Linked DNA regions of Homo sapiens: all the other regions are linked to region 1. The links are contacts of gene promoters, found by promoter capture Hi-C in blood cells and fetal thymus (Javierre and others, 2016). All regions are on one chromosome and are shown on one strand. The core of a region is centred on a gene start or on the middle of the fragment in contact, and the rest is flanking DNA. Distances in the headings are between cores, read along the strand shown. Region 1 holds the start of CDK5R1 (cyclin dependent kinase 5 regulatory subunit 1). Region 2 overlaps MYO1D (myosin ID). Region 3 overlaps MYO1D (myosin ID). Region 4 overlaps MYO1D (myosin ID). Region 5 overlaps MYO1D (myosin ID).

Region 1 (2,590 bases), core at 39-2,538:
GTGAAAGCCTAGTCGGCTGGAGTGGTCAGGTAACTGGGTGGCATCCTCTCCTCTGGAGAGCCACTCCCTCATCTCTAGGTCCAGAGATAATCTGGATTAAGACAGGGCTTAAGTTTCCTGTTTCCCAGGTTTGTGGTCAGTTTTGACTCGATCTCCAGAAACAAGGTAAAATAGTAAATGAACAACAGCCTTTGTGAAGGATCTGGATTCACATCTGACAGGAACAGCTTTCAGAAACAGAATTTTACTCAATTTCGCTAGCATCAAGTTCTCAAATTATACATACTTAGAATTGAAAACGTTTAAGAGGGTCAGAAAGCTGGCCGGAGGGGCAGTTGCTTCAGCTTTAATATGACAAATAAGAGGGCGAGTGGGAACTTAGAGGTCATATTTGTGACGGGCTCAGGCTTGGCTACGGGCCACGCTTCTCTGGCTTGGATCTCTGAGGCCCACTTCGGCCGCGGTCATCTACCCATGATGAGGGAACGGAGGCCCCGGAGGGGTGGCCAGAACCGATTGGACTGTCCACTCGAGGTGCGCGTGGCACTCGGGAGGCCTCAGTAAAGGCGTCGCCTCTCCCCGCCCAGGGCCTTCTTCCCCGCGCTCCCTGGCTGCTTTCCACAGGGACGGGGATGTCAGGTGGAAGGAGGGAGCTCCGGACCCTGGCCTCGGCGGAGGGCTCCTCACCAGGCCAGGGCGGCAGCCTCAGAGAGGGCGGGCCGCGCGCTGCCAGGGCAGGGACTCGGCCGAGAGTGCCCCCGCGGCCGGCAGCTGCGGGCGCCGCGGCGGGAACAAAGGCAGCACGTGTCTGGGCGGGACGCGGGCGGGGTCGGCCCTCGGCTCCGCCCTGCTCGGCGCCCGCCCCGCGTCGGCAGAGTTGGGTTGCGCGGGCGCCGAGGACTCTCCGGCGGCCGGGCTGCTGTTGGGCGGCGGCGCGGAGCGGGCGGCGAGCTGTGCGGGAGGGGCGGCCCCGAGGGGCGGGGCGGGCCGACGCCGCGTGTCCCGCCGCAGCCGCGGAGTCCGGCTCCTAGATGGGGCCCGGCGCGTAGAGGTGCCTCCCGCTCGTTGCCGCGTCCTACCCGCACCGTGCGCGGCTCGAGCTGAGGACACCAACGGCCGCGACTCCCCGGCGAGACCAGGCCGGAGCGTGGACGGCGCGCGCGCCCCGCGAGGGAGGGCGCTGAGGCGCGCGCCGGAAGCGGGAGCGGGAGCGGGAGCGCGGCGGCGGCGGCGAAGGTGCGGGCGGCCGAGCGGGGGGCGGGGCTGCGGTGCCTGCAGAACCTTGGACAGAAGCTCCCTAGCTGCCGCCGCCGCCGCCGCCGCCGTCGCCGCCGCCGAGCGCGAGCCCAGCCGATCCCCGCCGAGCGCCCCCGAGCGCCGCCGAGCGCCGGGACCGCGGCGGCGGGGCCGCGGCGCGCATTGCGGAGGGCGCGGAGCGCAGGAGCTGCCGCCTGCCGGGTAAGCCTGCGCTGGGCGGCCGTCCTTGGCCCTGGGGAGCGGAGACCGGGGTCGCGCCCGTGCGGGGTGTCCAGGCGGGGGTCCTCGGCCGCCTCCGTCGGCGACCGGGCCCCTCCCGGCTGCGCCTGGGGACCGCAGCGGCGGCGGCGGGCGGGGGTGCTGCAGTGGAGGCGGCGAGGCTGCGTCGCGGGGGCGCGGGTAGGGCCCGGGACTGGGGCGGCGGGGTGCGCCGAGGCGCGGGGCGGAGGGGCGCAGGGGCGCAGGGGCGCGGCGCGGAGCCCAGCCTGGCGCTAAGAACCATCTTGTTTTCCAGGCAGATCCAAGGGGGCAGCACGCTTCCCGGGAGCGCCCCCGCCTCCTCTCCGGGGCCGCCGCAGGCTCGGTGAGCGGTTTTATCCCTCCGGCCGGCAGGCTGGGCGCGCAGGGGCGCGAGCCCCCGCCCGGCGCGCAGCAGCACCATGGGCACGGTGCTGTCCCTGTCTCCCAGCTACCGGAAGGCCACGCTGTTTGAGGATGGCGCGGCCACCGTGGGCCACTATACGGCCGTACAGAACAGCAAGAACGCCAAGGACAAGAACCTGAAGCGCCACTCCATCATCTCCGTGCTGCCTTGGAAGAGAATCGTGGCCGTGTCGGCCAAGAAGAAGAACTCCAAGAAGGTGCAGCCCAACAGCAGCTACCAGAACAACATCACGCACCTCAACAATGAGAACCTGAAGAAGTCGCTGTCGTGCGCCAACCTGTCCACATTCGCCCAGCCCCCACCGGCCCAGCCGCCTGCACCCCCGGCCAGCCAGCTCTCGGGTTCCCAGACCGGGGGCTCCTCCTCAGTCAAGAAAGCCCCTCACCCTGCCGTCACCTCCGCAGGGACGCCCAAACGGGTCATCGTCCAGGCGTCCACCAGTGAGCTGCTTCGCTGCCTGGGTGAGTTTCTCTGCCGCCGGTGCTACCGCCTGAAGCACCTGTCCCCCACGGACCCCGTGCTCTGGCTGCGCAGCGTGGACCGCTCGCTGCTTCTGCAGGGCTGGCAGGACCAGGGCTTCATCACGCCGGCCAACGTGGTCTTCCTCTACATGCTCTGCAGGGATGTTATCTCCTCCGAGGTGGGCTCGGATCACGAGCTCCAGGCCGT
Region 2 (2,590 bases), core at 50-2,549, 240 kb after region 1:
ATATAGGTATAAATAGCTATAGGTAATATAGATACAGATAATATAGATATAACATCTATATCTAATATAATAAATATATTTATATCTAAATAGATATAATAATGTCTTACTGGCTTTAAAAATGTATATGCATGTTATTTTGGTATATAATTAAAATACATGACCAAATATATTTTGGTATATAATTAAAATACATGCATGTTATTTTGGTATATAATTAAAATACATGACCAAAATAGCATACAAGTTAGGAGGAAGGTAAATGGAATTAAATTGGCCTTGTATTTCCTAGGAAGGAGGCAAAAGTACCAAATAACATTAGATTTTTATATTCAAGAATGATATTGCAATAAGTCAAGTAACCACTATAACAGTATTTAAGTAAATCTTCCAAAATAATAAAGAGAATAAATAAAATGATAAAAAATACTTGCAACACCAGTGGAGGGGAAAGAGTATGATCTTAGGTCTAACTAAACATTTTGACTCAGAATACTCATAGGCCACATTTGGCACCAATCTCTTCAAAAGGCCAAGAACACGGTTTGCTAGCAGGTAGCGTCAGTGTCCTTGGAGCAGTCCACACAGCAGTCAAGTGACAGCTTAGGTGTAAGGAGATGAGATCCACATTGGACATGTGTGCGAGGTGAACTTGGCTTAAAAGCCTCATGCCCCACAGGACCAAATATCTCTTAGAACAGCTCAGAAGACATAGCTTCAAGGGTCCAGCAAAGGACAGACCTAATACAGGAGTCACTAAGCTCAGGCAAACCCAAAGTATATAAAACCCACCAGACATCATTCTCCCAAGACAGATGCAATTTACTGACAGGGATAATTCTGACCATAAGTAATGTTGTTAAGTGATACATGTCTTACTAGGTTGCCAGAGGAACAGAGCTAGAAATTTAACTGAGGTTAAGCTGTCAAGGGGAAGGAATAAAGTTTTGTTTACCTTTCTCCCACAATAATCAATCTAAAAGAAATACAGAAAAAAAGAAAATAAATACAGAAGAGTCAAATAGAAGCATTAACAAGATGCCTGATTTAAATGCAACACACACTATATTAAAAGTAAATGAACTAAATGATTTATTCAAAAGACAAAAATTGTCAGACTGGATTAAAAAAATCAAAGCTAACTATATGCTACTTATGAGAGACACACTTGAAACATAAGGATATAGAAAGATTGAAAGTAAAAGGATGAAAAAGATATACCATGCAAACTCTAGCCAAAAGAAAAGCTGGCATAGCTATATTATTCATGCAAAGCAGATTTCAAGGCAAAAAGCAATATGGAAATAGAGATGTTTCATAATGATAAATGACTCAAACACCAGGAAGATATAACAGTTCTAACTTGAATGAGCCTAACAAATTCTCTAAATATTTACACAAAAAATCAAAGGTACAATAAGGACAAGCAGATAAATTCAGAATCAAGGCAGAGTTTAAAACACCTTTCAATGTTTACAAAACAAAGAAGTCAGGAAGAAAATAGAAAAGTTGAACAATATTATTAGCAAACTTGACCTAATGGACTTGTATAGAATATTGAATGCAATTTTTTTTTTTTTTTGAGACAGTCTCACACCGTCACCCAGGCTGGAGTGCAATGGCGTGATCTCAGCTCATTGCAACCTCGGACTCCCGGGTTCACGTGATTCTCCTGCCTCAGCCTCCCGAACAGCTGGGATTACAGGGTGCACACCACCATGCCTGGCTAATTTTTTGTACTTTTAGTAGAGACAGGGTTTCACTATGTTGGCCAGGCTGGTCTTGAACTCCTGATCTTGTGATCTGCCCACCTTGGACTCCCAAAGTGCTGGGATTACAGGCATGAGCCACCGCGCCCGGCTGCAAATTATTTTTTAAAGACAAACAAAACATATACATAAAGCAAATTTAGCAAATTTCTAAAAATTGAAACCACACAGAGTATGTCTTTTGATGAAATAAGACTAAGCTAGAAATCAAGAGCAAAAAGATAATGAGAAAATCCTATATGTTGAAAATTAAGAAAAATACTTCTGAACAACTAAACCTTAGGTCAAAAAGGAAATTACAATGTGATTTGGAAAATATTTTGGACTGAATAATGTATAAAATCATGTAGGCAACGCAATCTTATAAGGCATCATATGAAGAGTATTAATACAACTTTATTAACCAGAAAATAGTTGAATGGACTATTACCAGTACTGAGTGATTACGCATAGGAAGTGGCAATATTGGATGAGACACTAACAACCAACTAAGAAATGGGGGGAAGCCCTTTCATCCTGTTTAGTGATATAAAAGTCTTTGGATAAGGAATATAGTGGGAATACTTTCTCTATATTTAATCAGCATTCTGTCTCAATTTATAAATGCTGCCTCCTCTCTCATTTATAAATATCCAGACTGACTCAGCCTAAGAAATCCTAAATTTGGCAAATTCAGAGTGTCTTATAAAGGTTAAATTGCAAAAGTTAATAGTGATCTTATTCTCTTGAACTTTTTCACCTGTCTCTCCCTATATATTTTACGGGAAAAAAAACACCATTTGTGAAAGTACACCAATCAGTATATAGATTAGCTAGACTAC
Region 3 (2,590 bases), core at 25-2,524, 210 kb after region 1:
CAGGCCTCTTAGGTTCAAATCCCAGCTCTGGTGTTTACCGTGTGTGACCTCTGCCAAGGTCCTTAACCACTCAGTGGCTTTAGCTCCCTTATCTATTAAATGGAAATAATAATGGACACTCATTCACAAGGTTCTTGTAATGACTTAGTTAAATAACCAGAATAGTAAAGTATCCAGAGTAGTGCCTATCACTCAGGAAATACTAGCTACCATATCAGTAGGTTTTGTGTTTTCTTTCTTTTCTCTTTTCTTTTTCCTTCCTTCCTTCTTCCTTCCTTCCTCCCTCCCTTCCCCCCTCTCCCTCCCCCTTCCCTCCTTCCTTCCTTCTTTCCTTCCTTCCTCCCTCCCTCTCTTCCCCCCTCCCCCTCCCCCTTCCCTCCTTCCTTCTTTTCTTTTTTAAGGACAAAAGTAATCAATTTTATATGAGAAATAATTATTTTGCTTTTAGTCTTAGAAATAAAACACTTGATTGGTTTTACAAAGAAGTCAGAGTGCTTTGTTTAGAAATCATATGAAAGCCCCCATCACTTCATGTCTCTATCTGACAGTTTCCTAACAAATAAAACATTAGGCAAATGAATGACAAAACCAATAAAATCCAATTTTCAGATAATGATTCTATTCATACTTTTTCTTTTGGCTGGTTTACAAAATTATCGTACTCACTGAAAATGATTACACTATATTAATCTTTGAGTCTACTTATAATTAACAGTTATTATATTATTCTCAGTTTCAGAATTTACTATTTTCATTATATGTTTATGCTTTAATGAGCCACTTTTAATCCTTCACAAGATCTTTCTTGTGATAAGGGAGCTAAAGCCATAATATAATCCAATAATAAAAAATGCAAAATGCAAATTTAACAAATAAATATAAGAACATATAAATAATATGAAATTGTTAATTTAGACAAACTAAAGACGCCACTCCTTGCCATACATAAGCCACATTTATTTTATTTTAATTTTAATTTTTTTCAAGACAAGTCTTGCTCTGTCGCCCAGGTTGGAGTGCAGTGGTACCATCTTGGCTCACTGCAACCTCTGCCTCCGGGGTTCAAGCAATTCTCCTGCCTCAGCCTGAATAGCTGGGATTACAGGTTTGTGTCATCACGCCCGGCTAATTTTTGTATTTTTAGTAGAGATGGGGTTTCACCATGTTGGCCAGGCTGGTCTCGAACTCCCGACCTCGTGATCCCCCTGCCTCAGTCTCCAAATAAGCACTGGGATTACAGGCATGATCCACCGTGCCCAGCCCATAAGCCACCTTTAAAACATTCAATTTTTAAAGATGAAATGATATGTCACTGAAAATCATAATTAATATTACATATCAAGTTTCTGAAATATATGGGAACAAAACTCCCAAATGACAGAGATAACTGTCAGACTGCCAGGAACCACTCACTGCCTTAGGTGTTGATGCTGCCCTTTGATAAAGATGAGTGTGCTCCTTTCTCAATGCTGTCTCAGCTCTGGGGGTGGCCACGCCTATCCCTAACCATCTGTGAAAAGATAGTTTCCAGTCAACTGGGAACAATGAACAGAAACTATTAATTATTAATTTTATATGGTATGATAACAGTATGAAGTCCTTATCTATAAAGTCCTTATCTGTAGATTGGTATTTAAGGGTGACAAAAGATATCTGGGATGTTCTTTAAAAACTTCAACCAAACCAAAACAAACATACATAAAAGCATGAGGTGGGAATTAGATAAAATAAGAATGACAAAATATTGTTAATTGTTGAATCTGGGTGATGGAAACATGGAGATTCATTAAACTGTTCTTCCTATTTTTGTGAATATTTGCAATTTTCCATAATAAAAATATTAAAAAATAACATATACCTTATTTCACATTATACTCACAAAAAATCACTGTACACCAGGCCCTAAAGTAAACCTCAATAAATTCCAGAAAGTAGAAATGGAACATTTAACATTCTGTGATCATAAAGCAGTGAAACTAAAAAATTAAGAACAAAATTAGAAAAGTAAAGAAAATACACACACAAAACATGTATCACCTGGAAATGATTTAAAAAAATTTTTTTAAACAACTTTCAGGGAAAGAGAAAATGTAAACATAAAAAATAATTAAATAATAATATATCAGGTCCTACAGATCAGCAGTCTCCAACTTTTTGGCACCAAGGACCAATTTCATGGAAGACAGTTTTTCTATGGACTGGGAGGTGGTAGGGGATGGTTTCGGGATGAAACTGTTCCATCAGATCATCAGGCATTAGATTCTCATAAGGAGTGTACAACCTAGATCCCCTGCATGGGCATTTCACACACAACAGGGTTCCTGCTCCTATGAGAATCCAATGCCGCTGCTGATCTGATAGGCCGCGGAGCTTGCTTGCCCTCTGCTCATCTCCTGCTGTGGGGCCCAGTTCCTAACAGGCCACGGACCAGTACCAGTCCGTGGCACAAGGGTTGGGGACCCCTGCTACAGATACAGCAGAAGCAGATCCACAAAAAATTTCACAGTTCATTACTAATAAATGTGAAAGAAAAAACTGAACGAAGTGTTCAACTCCAGAAGTTGGAGAAAGATAAACTGATTGCCTCTGC
Region 4 (2,590 bases), core at 65-2,564, 180 kb after region 1:
TTAGAAGCTCTGTATAAGTGCTTCATGGATGGGGAACTTCACTACAGGGTGATTAGGTTGGGAGTAGCCATCTGTGGGGAACCCCAGAATGTCAGGATCATGAAGTGTTTTCTCTTTCCTGCCAGAATCCTCAGAGTGAAGGGGTCTGGGGTGGGTGGTGGGGGGAATCTTACTCCTCAGTGTCTATACTTTCATTTAATATCCTTGGTCTCAATATGGTACCTGACCCCTCTCCTCCACTAAGCCTGGTGTCCCTAAGTTCAGAACTTCTCTAAATCCTGTTCAATTTACTCAGACAAGAAACTTCTTGCCATCTATCAGAATGAGGCTGAGGTAGTCCCTTAGCTTTGTGTGGTCTGGGGAGAGACCTAGTGTCTAATTCCTCTTTATATAGATTTTAACCAACCTCCTCTGTCAGGGCCACCCCTCATCCCTACCTACAGAGGCACCCAGTCCTTCCCAGTCTAGAATCTTTCTACAGCCCTACAGTCAGAACAAGGCAAACTGTCTTGCCTGTTTGCCTTGTTCTCTGCAGGCACTTGCCTGGGAGTAACGACTCATTTACTTACTTCTAAACTTATGCTGACACCTCTTGTCTTCTGTTGTTTCCACTATGGTACTATTTGTCCTCGTAGGTTTATCCAATTTTTATTCCTTTTCTGCTCTTTTCGAGATGTTAAGAGAGTGGATATAAACACAACTGTCATGTTTAACCAGATGTTTCATAATGCCATCTTAATTCTACCATTTTTTCTTCTGCTGCATACTTCTTCAGCAGTCAGACGTTTCAAAGCAACATCTAACAGTCATTAAACTTTGCAAAAAAAAGTAGGATTCTAGGTTGCACTCTATTAAGAAGTAGGGCAATTATGTATCTTCCGTTTCGTCTCAGAATCAAACACAGGTCAGCTTTCCTTTTTTTCTCCTAGTTCCCCATGTTTTGTTTTGTTTTGTTTTTCAAAATTCTAGTCATTATGGGCATTGGGGGCTCTTTCTGTCTTGTTGTCAATATAAATCACTACTTCACAGCTCCCTGGTACTCTGAATTAGACATTCTCTTGGTTTCCACAAACAGAATTGTTCAACATTTCAGCTCCTAGCTTCTCAGGTCCTCCATGCCTAAGGACAATTTTTAGAAGCATCTTTCTTCCATTTCTATCTTTAAGTTCCCCCTATGGGGATCTTCGAGATGTCCATATTGAGATGAGTCTACATAATGGGGAACTTTGAGAGTCCACATTGAGATAAGTCTACATAACCCATATGGTTATTTGGGCAGAGTTCTGACACCTTACGGTTGTTAAAAAGTTGTGGTAGAGGAGGGTTTATTTATGTAAATAATGAACTCTCGTTGAATGAACTCTGAGCAAATTATAAATATACAAAATTTGGTATGGACACATTCCATCAAATTTAGAATATGACAGTCACATTCAATTTAGGATATTTCATGATTGACTGATGAAGGGTGTGGCTCTAAGAGCTATTTTAAAGGAAGACTCAGAGACAGAAAAATCTTTCTGAATTATTCCTCTTCCATTTCTATAAGGGACAAAATGAATAAAGACTTGATATGCTATTTTTAAAATGCTGGTGCTCATGTTTTTACCGGACTAGCAGGTTAATATGTAACAAGAAGAAAATATAATCCAGTGAATATAATTTATAGGCTATTAGCTTAATTCCTGACACAAAATTCCTTCGTTTTACAGATAAATTAATAATATTTTGGAAGACATACGATAAATCTAAGACACAAAAGAACCAAATCTTTAGTCAATAAACAAATGTAAAAATCATTAAAATGAAGAGCCACACACACACAAAAAGTACATGTGAGTCTGATCATTACAAGCCGTCCTGATGAACTTAACTATTGCAGGTGGTGGTATTGGTATGTGCTTGGTGGAACATAATTTAGAAGTGACCACCCCTGAGCTGTCTTACCTTGGTCTGGGAGACTAACTTGCCGAGTTAATTGACCCATGAACCTTCGTTTAGGACATGCCCATTTTATATATATGGCCTTGTCCAGATTCATTAACCTTGCAATTCTTTAGTGCACACAATTGCTGCCTATTAATGATTTCTTCACTATGATGATGACATGATCTGACAGCCTCCTTATAACTGTAACTTCAAGAAGTAATTGAACCTTTTGGTCAATTACTATCAGAAGAACAGCCCAATATCAACACTATTGAAACCCAAATCGCAATTATTTTGCAGACAAATGAAAATAAAATTACTCCAGATAATAGGTTAAGTAACTCTGACAGATTTTCCAGGATTCAATCTTGTAAACACTCTGTGGAGCTGTAGGAAAGTGACTGCTTTCTTTTGTTTGGTTTTGTTTTCTTAAAAGAGGAGGTAAAAACTTGGTAATTCATCTTGAAAATCTCTCAAGACTATCTAAACTGCATTTTGATGTAGAACTACAGAGTTTTGGTCAAGAGTTTGAGCATCTGAGCAGATCCAAAGTGGTGTCTGGCAATATTTCAGCTTTTTCAGGAGACTCCTACAGCCTCTACCATCTCCAAGTCTACCTCTGTCTGATAGCGAGGTGGCTTACCACCTGGTAAAGAGTACA
Region 5 (2,590 bases), core at 40-2,539, 140 kb after region 1:
TTGACTAAAAAAACAAAATGTGCCAACAAGCCATGGGAAGACATGACGGAACCTTAAAGGCCTACTGCTAAGTGAAAGAAGACAATCTGAAAAGGCTACATTCTGTATGATTCTAATTATATGACATTCTAGAAAAGGCACAACTGTAGAGACAGTAAAATGATAGTGGTTCCCGTAGGTTCAGGGGAAAGAGGGAAAGGAATGAACAGGTTACGCACACAGGATCTTTAGAGCAGTGAAACTGTTCTGTGTGATACTGTAATGGTGGATACATGACACTATACATTTGCCAAAACCTACAGAACTCAACAGCATCAAGAGTGAACCTTTGTGGGCAACTTAAAAAAAATTAGGAGGTTGGGGGGTTTCAGGAAGGAATGCAAAATGTGACAAGAGAATCCACTTATATTAAAAAGTATGGGCCAGGCACAGTGACTCACGCCTGTAATCCCAGCACTTTGGGAGGCCAAGGCAGGTGGGTCATGAGGTCAGGAGTTTAAGACCAGCCTGGCCAAGATGGTGAAACCTCGTCTCTACTAAAAATACAAAAAAAATTAGCCAGGCGTGGTGGCGGGCGCCTGTAATTCCAGCTACTCGGCTGAGGCAGAGAATTGCTTGAATCCGGGAGGCGGAGGTTGCACTGAGCCAAAATTGCGCCACTACACTCCAGCCTGGGTGACAAAGCGAGATTTCATCTCAAGAAAAAAAAAAAAAAAGGTATCAATCTCACTGAAGAGGGCGGAAAGAAAAGGTGCTGACCTAGGTAACTTTGGAAATGAGTGGAGTGTGTAAGACTAAAGGGAAAAGGAAGTGCATGTAGCACTGTACTCTATTTGATAAAGTCGTGCCTCACAGGAGTACAGGTTAACAATTCTGATACTGCTATGCATGGATACTGGAAATGAACAATTAGGTAAATGGACAGTGGATGGTGCAAGCCAGGTTTCTCACTTTTGGACAGGGAATTTAAAGATAAGCGATGGGGGAAGGCTAGAATGACTCATGTGGTCATGGACTAGAGTGAGAGACACTAGTATAAACTCATGTTTAACTTCATATAAAGATGGTCACATATAAAAATATTTATAAAGATGTGTATATACACAGATTATACACATATATTTCTGTCCTGTGCCAGCTGAGAGGACCTAAAAGAAATGAATCCCCGGTAGCAACAAGCACATCTAGTATTCAGATCTGTTTCTTTCTTTTGTAGAGACAGTGTCTCACTATTTTACCCAGGCTGGTCTCAAACTCCTGGGCTCAAGCAATCTTCCCATCTTGGCCTCCCAAAGTGCTGGGATTACAGACGTCCAGCCTAGTAATATTCTAACACAGGATTATGTGATGATTGCACAACTGCATAAATTACTAAAAATAACTATAACTTACAATGGGCAAATTTTATGGTATGTAAATATATTAGTTTGCTAGGGCTGCCATGATAAAGTATCACAGACTAGGTGGCTTAAACAGCAGAAATGTATTTCCTTGAAGTTCTGGAGGCTGGAAGTTTAAAATTAAGATGTTGGTAGAGTTGTTCCTCCTTTTTTTTTTTGAAATGGAGTCTCGCTCTGTTGCCCAGGCTGGAGTGCAGTGGTGTGATCTCGGCTCACCGCAAGCTCCGCCTCCTGGGTTCACATCATCCTCCTGCTTCAGCCTCCCGATTAGCTGGGACTATAGGTGCCTGCCGCCACATCTGGCTATTTTTTTTGTATTTTTAGTAAAGATGGGGTTTCACCTTGTTAGCCAGGATGGTCTCAATCTCCTGACCTCGTGATCCACCCGCCTCAGCCTCTCAAAGTGCTGGGATTACAGGCATGAGCCACCACGCCCTGCCGGTAGAGTTGTTCTTCTGACGGCTTCTCTCCTTGCCTTGTAGATGGCTGTCTTCTCTCTGTCTTCACATGGCCTTCCCTCTGTACCTATGTTGTAATCTCCTCTCATGTGGACACCAGTCATACTGGATTAGGGCCCACTCTTAAGATCCCACTTTAACTTAATTACTACTTTAAAGACCCCATCTCCAAATACAGTCACTTTCTGAGGTACTGGGGGTTTGGACTCTGATATATAAATTTTGGGGGAACACAATTCAGTCTGTAACAGTGAATTATACCTCAAGAAAGCTATTTTAAAAAGTCAATATGATGGGAAAAAAACAGGGTAGGGGTATATGTGAGTGGAAGTGCAGTGTGGACTAAAACAGACCAGAGATGTAACTACCAAGTGCCATATGATGGAATAATTTTACTTCTACATATGTAAATGTGAACCTACACAGAATTCTGTTATTAAAAAAACAGGTTTAAAAGGCAGTCTTTGGCTAGGTGTGGTGTGGCTCATGCCTGTAATTCCAGCACTTTGGGATTTGAGGCTGAGGCAGGAGGATTGGCTGAGGCCAGGAGTTCCAGACCAGCTTGGGCAACGTGAGACCCTGTCTCTACAAAAAAAATTTTCAAAGTTTAGCCAAGAGTAGTGGCGTGCATCTGCAGTCCTAGCTACTTGGAAGGCTGAGGAGACAGGAATGCTTGATCCCAGGAGTTTAAGGCTGCAGTGAGTTATGATTGCACAACTGCACTCCAGCCTG

What was found. The method cuts DNA at HindIII sites, captures the fragments that hold promoters and counts their contacts. A CHiCAGO score of 5 or more calls a contact.
Region 2: a fragment that was not itself captured here is called in contact with the fragment with the promoter of CDK5R1 in region 1 in 2 of 17 cell types (endothelial precursors and naive CD8 T cells); the score reaches 5.6 in endothelial precursors.
Region 3: a fragment that was not itself captured here is called in contact with the fragment with the promoter of CDK5R1 in region 1 in 5 of 17 cell types (naive CD8 T cells, M0 macrophages, M2 macrophages and 2 more); the score reaches 6.6 in naive CD8 T cells.
Region 4: a contact is called between a fragment that was not itself captured here and the fragment with the promoter of CDK5R1 in region 1, in 14 of 17 cell types (M0 macrophages, naive B cells, M1 macrophages and 11 more). The highest score is 10.8, in M0 macrophages.
Region 5: a fragment that was not itself captured here is called in contact with the fragment with the promoter of CDK5R1 in region 1 in 12 of 17 cell types (total B cells, naive CD8 T cells, naive B cells and 9 more); the score reaches 11.6 in total B cells.

What each region holds. Positions count from the first base shown.
Region 1 is chr17:32,485,705-32,488,294 of GRCh38, forward strand. It overlaps CDK5R1 (cyclin dependent kinase 5 regulatory subunit 1), which reads left to right and starts at 1,289. Exons shown (of 2, transcript NM_003885.3): 1 at 1,289-1,458; 2 at 1,772-2,590. The coding sequence starts at 1,917. RefSeq lists enhancers at 75-576, 1,816-2,375 and silencers at 649-1,178, 1,289-1,548, 1,639-1,928. The HindIII fragment of the contact is 10,728 bases long and covers 1-2,590 here.
Region 2 is chr17:32,726,644-32,729,233 of GRCh38, forward strand. The region is part of intron 14 of MYO1D (myosin ID); the gene reads right to left. Among named protein-coding and RNA genes, the nearest start is that of MYO1D-DT, 150 kb to the right of the region's middle. The HindIII fragment of the contact is 9,933 bases long and covers 1-2,590 here.
Region 3 is chr17:32,698,003-32,700,592 of GRCh38, forward strand. All of the region lies in intron 16 of MYO1D (myosin ID), which reads right to left. Among named protein-coding and RNA genes, the nearest start is that of MYO1D-DT, 180 kb to the right of the region's middle. RefSeq lists a silencer at 1,328-1,528. The HindIII fragment of the contact is 7,050 bases long and covers 1-2,590 here.
Region 4 is chr17:32,665,766-32,668,355 of GRCh38, forward strand. The region is part of intron 16 of MYO1D (myosin ID); the gene reads right to left. Among named protein-coding and RNA genes, the nearest start is that of CDK5R1, 180 kb to the left of the region's middle. The HindIII fragment of the contact is 5,410 bases long and covers 1-2,590 here.
Region 5 is chr17:32,629,033-32,631,622 of GRCh38, forward strand. The region is part of intron 20 of MYO1D (myosin ID); the gene reads right to left. Among named protein-coding and RNA genes, the nearest start is that of CDK5R1, 140 kb to the left of the region's middle. The HindIII fragment of the contact is 3,506 bases long and covers 1-2,590 here.